2 separate regions of the Homo sapiens genome follow, and region 2 is linked to region 1. The links are contacts of gene promoters, found by promoter capture Hi-C in blood cells and fetal thymus (Javierre and others, 2016). All regions are on one chromosome and are shown on one strand. The core of a region is centred on a gene start or on the middle of the fragment in contact, and the rest is flanking DNA. Distances in the headings are between cores, read along the strand shown.

Region 1 (3,077 bases), core at 316-2,815:
AAGATGAGCAGTACCAATTTAACCTACTTAAGTTTTGACACCCACACTTACCTCTTTCGAGCACGACTAGACAGCCTCTTGGAATTTTCGTCACTTACTGTTTAAAAAAGAAAAACGAGGCAGAACAAGTTACAGGGGACATTAAAAATAAATGGGAACGGAAATAAACATGGTAAGAGAATTAGTACACTAATTAAAAGGAGTCCATTTAAATCTCAGCCCTGTTATTATTTAATAACTGTATACAAGTTTCTTTTTTTTTTTTGAAATGGAGTTTCACTCTTGTCTTCCAGGCTGGAGTGCAATGGCGTGATCTCAACTCACTGCAACCTCCTTCTCCCAGATTCAAGCGATTCTATTGCCTCAGCCTCCCATCACCACACCCAGCTAATTGTTGTATTTTTAGTAAAGACAGGGTTTCACCATGTTGGCCAGGCTGGTCTCGAACACTGGACCTCAGGTGATCCACCTGCCTCGGCCTCCCAAAGTGTTTCCTTAATAGTGCCTCTCTCACAGGACTCTAAGATGATTAAGCGATATAACATGACCAACAAGTTTAATACAGTGCCCAGGACTTCCTACTATCTCAATAAACTGCATCCTTTATCCAATGCCCAACACAAACTCCCGGTCCAGTGTTACCTCCCACCAGTCTTCCACACAGTATACTACTACTCGGCATGAAGCAGCCAGATCCGTGCTTTTCCATTTCCACCCCTTCCAAAAGGCAAATCAGTGACTGACCCCTCCCCTTCACTACTTCCTCTTGCTACAATGTTACCCATTTTTCAAAACCCAGCTTAACAAAAACTTTTACAGTTCTGCATGGGCTCCCCCTTCCTCTGAACTCACAATTGTTTTAAATCACACTTTTCCCTTGCATGAATAATAGTTGTGTCCGTGTCTTCACATCTCTACGACCTAAACAGTTCCCTACAATCTAAACGGCTGTTTCATTCATACCTCCTAGTAACTCATACAGAGAAGATTCCACTTAAATATAAAATGAACAGAAACTAAAAAAGAGAAGAGGTTATAATACAGAATACTGCAAAAGCTGAGGGATCAGGAGGCCACAACTAATCCTTACCTGCAGGCAAGAATCTGACGAGTTCTGTCTCGGCACCCTTCTGCTTCCGGGCCTTTCGGCCTGGCCCCCGCTTCTCCTTCGTAGGGTCCAACTTGCGCCCCATGGTACTGTGGCAGGCAGAAATGGGAGAAGGTGGCGTCGCGCGTGTCGGAGGGAACGGCAGAACGCACGCTTGGCGTATTATAGTGGGAAAGGGCACAGCCTCAACTCAGCACCCGCAACTCACTCAGCACTCCCGACTCAGCACCCGCGACTCAAGCACCCCCGCTATCCCCCTGGAGGCCCGACCGAACGCCCTCCCACCTGAAACCCAGGTAGCGCACCCTTCTCCCCACGTCCCAGACCAGGTCAGTGCTGCCACTCTTCGTCCCCCAATTTCCTCTAGACCCACCAGAATGCGGGTTAATGTCCGAGAGTGCCCTTCGGGCGGCCCTCCACGTGCAATCCGGACCTAGCTTTCGGCCGGCACTCGCCACAGAATCGTTCCACGCAGGCGCACGGGTAGCGCTAGCCTCGCGGCCCCGCCTCTTCCTGTTGCGCCTAGTCGGCCGCCGCACCCGGAACTTACGCTCGCCCTGGGAACGCCAGCGGAGCCGGCGGCGGCGAGTAGGGGGCAATTCGAAGGAGACGCGCAGCTTACACCCGCGGCGGGTGGAGGGAGCAATGTGACGAAACCATTGAGCTTGACCGACCTTCCCTCATGGAGTTGGCTTTTAGCCTCACGGCCGGTTTCTGTTGGGTGAAAGCCGCACCTTCTCCTCGAACCAGGGCCCGACATTGGAGCCCTCTCCCTCGCATCCACTGCCCTAGTCCAGCGTCAAGATCACGGAATTCCAGGCTGGGCGCAGTGGCTCACGCCTGTAATCCCAGCACTTTGGGAGGCTGAGGTGGGTGGATCACTTGAGGTCAGGAGTTCGAGACCAGCCTGGCCAATATGGTGAAACCCTGCTTCTACTAAAAATACAAAATTAGCCGGGCGTGGTGGCGGGCGCCTATAATCCCAGCTACTCGAGAGGCTGAGGCAGAATTGCTTGAGCCCGGGAGGCGGAGGTTGCAGTAAGCCGAGATCGTGCCACTTAAGCCTCACCAAGAGCGAAACTCCACCTCAAAAAAAAAAAACAAAAAAACCAGCCGGGCTCGGTGGCTCACGCCTGTAATCCCAGCACTTTGGGAGGTCGAGGCGGGCGGATCACGAGGTCAAGAAATCCGAGACCATCTTGGCCAACCTTGTCTCTATTAAAAATACAAAAATTAGTTGGGCATGGTGGCTGGCGCACGCGTGTAGTCCCAGCTACTCGGGAGGCTGAGGCAGGAGAATCGCTTGAACCCGGGAGGGGGAGGTTGCAGTGAGCTGAGATCGCGCCACTGTACTCCAGCCTGGCAACAAAGCGAGACTCCATCTCAAAACAAACAAACAAAAAAAACCGTGGAATTCCATGCCACTTACCTCCTCCTCTTTGCCCCTTTTTTAAAAATCTTTTTATAGAGACGGGTTGTAGGGGGTGGCGTCTCACTATATTGCCAGGGCTGGTCTAGAACTCCTGGGCTTAAGCGATCCTCCTGCCCCCACCTTTGTGCTGAGATTACAGGCTGTGAGCCACCGTGCCCCGCCCTCCCAGCACCTTCCTTGATGCTGACCCCTGCTCAGCCCCTCAATTAAGGTGCTGCACTGCACCTCATTCGCAGGGGGCCTCTTCGCCGGAACTCGCTTTCAGGTGGGTCTACAATTAGTTGGGAAACAACGGGTTGCAAGGCTGACCTGGTCTGGGACATGAGAAGGGGTGAACTACAAGGGTTTCAAGGTTGGAGGACGTTAGGTCGGGCCTCCGGGGGTGTGGGATTGAGGCTGTGTTCTTCCACAAATTGCATCCCAATTTTGCACAACTTAGCAAGAAAACCCCCCTCAGCCTTCCTAGAAACTAACATTAAGGTAGTGGTTAGGTGTTAAAACCGTTCCATGTACTTCACTGGTTTAACTTGACAACCG
Region 2 (2,949 bases), core at 267-2,766, 210 kb before region 1:
TGGTTGTTTAAAAGTGCCTGGTCTCTCTCTCTCTTGCCCCCTCTCCTCCCCTTCTACCATGAGTAAAAGTTTCCTGAGGCCTCCCCAGAAGCTGAGCAGATGCTGGTGCCATGCTTGTACAATCTGCAGAACCCTGAGCCAATTAAACCTCTTTCCTTTATAAATTACCCAGACTCAGATATTCCTTTTTTTTTTTTTTTTTTTTTTTTCAGATGGAGTCTTGCTCTGTCGCCCAGGCTGGAGTGCAGTGGTGCGATCTCGGCTCACTGCAACCTCCACCTCTTGGGTTCAAGCAATCCTCCTGCCTCAGCCTCCTGAGTAGCTGGGGCCACAGATGTGTGCCACCACACCCGGCTAATTTTTATATTTCCAGTAGAGATGGGGTTTCGCCATGTTGGCCAGGCTGATCTCTAACTCCTGACCTCAGGTGATCCGCCCATCTCGGTCTCCCAAAGTGCTGGGATTACAGGCATGAGCCACCGTGCCCGGTGAGATATTCCTTTATAGCAACACAAAATGGACTAACACACAGGACTAACTGGAATAGTTACATGTGGTGACGTGAAGTAAGGTTGAAGTACAAAGGTTCCTGTAGTTGCAGAAGGAAGGGAGGATTTGGAGGCAAAAGAACGCAGTAGGGTGGAGTGGTGGGTATAACAACCCAGGCGAGCAATGAGGCTCTGAGCTGACCTAAGCGCCTAAGTGCCAAGATAAAGATGAACCATGGACTTTCTGTTGAGGGGGAGGCAGGCACACAGAGCAAAGGGAGGGCATCGGGTGAGGGCATAGGGAAAGCACAGGTGTCCATGGACTTTCTGTTGATGGGGAGGCAGGCACACAGAGCAAAGGGAGGCATCGGGTGAGGGCATAGGGAAAGCACAGGTGTCCAGGTGACAGTTAGAGGAACTTGGTGACAGGTGTGGGCGGACTCAGGCTTAGGTGTTGCTACCATCTTACTTCCCAGCTGGTAGTTTCTGTCCTCAAACAAATGCAAAGACTAAAAACAGAACAAAATCGTGTACTGGGCAGAGTGTGTGTGAAGGGTAAGAAGTGACACCTTGCCCTGTGGCCATTCTTCAGCAACAGGGGAGGGAATGCCCCCTGTAGAGTGGAGCCAGGCAGAGGCAGGGAGATGGCTCCGGAAAATAAACGAGCAGGAGGAGAAGGCAGGGGAGGAGGGGGCCAGAGGTTACAGAAGGGGACCCCCCCCTCGCCTCAGCCTCTCCCAGCCCTCAGAGAACCTGCAGCTGCTATGAGCTGCTTGCAAGGACATTATAACAGGGGTCCTCACAGAATGAATACCCGAGGGGTAGTGGGGTGGGAAGAATCCTTAGCCAGGGCCGGCCCATTCCCAAGGGCAAGTCACTTCACCTGTTTGAGTACAAGAGTAATGAAACCCATCATTTACTGTGGTCTATAAAGTGCCCTCACGTTTGTATCTCACACACTTGGTACAGCTCTTGAGATGAGTGTTATCGTCATCATCTTCGTCACTTGAGTAAAAGTGCCAAAGGAGCATGGATTATATAGTTTTTCCTTTGATGTAGTCCAAATGCCTAGAACAGTGACTGGCACATAGCCCAGATAGTCAAAACTATTTGTTGAACGAACACTGAATGAATCTCATTTTTTGTTTTACTTCCATTTTACAATCTAAGAAATAGGCTCTGAAGGATGATGTGATACATCCAGAGTCACCTGGCCAGGAAGTGACAGAGCTAGAGTGGGAACTTAGGTTTAGTCCCTCAACCCATGCCACTCCACCTCACTACTACTGCCAGCCTCAGCTCAGGGAACAGAGTATGAGACAGATGATCTCCTAGGCCCTTTTGAGCTTTGATGCTAGGGAGAAAGGGGCCTTAGAAAGACCAAGACCCTGGCCAGGCATGGTGGCTCACGCCTGTAATCCCAGCACTTTGGGAGGCCAAGGCAGGCAGATCACCTGAGGTCAGGAGTTGGAGACCAGCCTGACCAACATGGACGTTGACCAACGTCTCTACTAAAAATAAAAAAATTAGCCAGGCGTGGTGGCGCATGACTGTAATCCCAGCTACTCAGGAGGCTGAGGCAGGAGAATTGCTTGACCCCAGGAGGTGAAGGTTGCAGACAGCCGAGATCGCGCCATTGCACTCCAGCCTGAGCAACAAGAGCAAAACTCCATCTCAAAAAAAAGAAAAACAAAAAAGACCAAGATCCATGCTTCCAGCCTTTGGTTTCTCAAAGCCCCAGTCTTCCCAAGGCATCCTGTGAGGCCACTTCCCTCAGATCCAGCAGTGCAGGGAGCAGCAGGAGTTCGTAGGGCGCTCTCTGGGGCAGGGTGTGGGCCCAAAGCCAGTGCTTCCCCCTGGCCTGCTGGCACTGGCATTTTTTTAGTCAACAAGCATTTCCTGGGCCCTGCCCATGCAGGGCGTGAGGCTGACCCAGGGAAGCGGACCCCGCGGAGAGCAAGGAGCCAGGCAGGACTGACTCACGCCTGGTTGCAGGAGACCTGGTTGAAGCGGCAGGCGAAGATGAAGTTGCCCAGCGTGTCCTCCTCCAGGGATGGCAGAGTCTCTGGCAGCCTCGACAGGATGTTGATGTAGTGGAAGCGGTACCACTCCCTCACCGCATCCACCCCTGATGAGTATGTCTGGTAGAAGCAGTCCGATTTGTTCTGGTTGCACTGGACACAGAGACTAGAGTCAGAGGGGACACGCAGCCGGGGATAAGCCCCTTGGCAGGGCCAAGGGCAAAGAATGAGTGATCTGGGGTTCTGAGGACTGACGGACAGGAGTCGGAAGCCAGGAGTGGGGAAAGACAGAAGTGGAAGAGAAGCAGAAGTCCCTAGGAGCATGGACCAGGGGAGCATGGGATTAAGGGAGTTGCAGGCCAGGAAAGGAGACCAGTAGCTGCACACACACGGTTTTGGTTCATTTATACCTCCCCTGCCTAGGGTGGAAGGAGCAAGAC

The links. The method cuts DNA at HindIII sites, captures the fragments that hold promoters and counts their contacts. A CHiCAGO score of 5 or more calls a contact.
Region 2: a contact is called between a fragment that was not itself captured here and the fragment with the promoter of NOP2 in region 1, in 6 of 17 cell types (total CD8 T cells, non-activated CD4 T cells, total CD4 T cells and 3 more). The highest score is 9.2, in total CD8 T cells.

The regions. Positions count from the first base shown.
Region 1 is chr12:6,566,726-6,569,802 of GRCh38, forward strand. It overlaps NOP2 (NOP2 nucleolar protein), which reads right to left and starts at 1,566. Exons shown (of 16, transcript NM_001258308.2): 1 at 1,482-1,566; 2 at 1,091-1,197; 3 at 52-97. The coding sequence starts at 1,193. It overlaps CHD4-AS1 (CHD4 antisense RNA 1), which reads left to right and starts at 1,646. Exons shown (of 3, transcript NR_199067.1): 1 at 1,646-2,805. RefSeq lists enhancers at 1,416-2,037, 1,861-1,910. The HindIII fragment of the contact is 18,468 bases long and covers 1-3,077 here.
Region 2 is chr12:6,359,580-6,362,528 of GRCh38, forward strand. SCNN1A (sodium channel epithelial 1 subunit alpha) reads right to left here. Exons shown (of 13, transcript NM_001038.6): 4 at 2,472-2,662. Among named protein-coding and RNA genes, the nearest start is that of SCNN1A, 15 kb to the right of the region's middle. RefSeq lists an enhancer at 2,522-2,949. The HindIII fragment of the contact is 4,287 bases long and covers 1-2,949 here.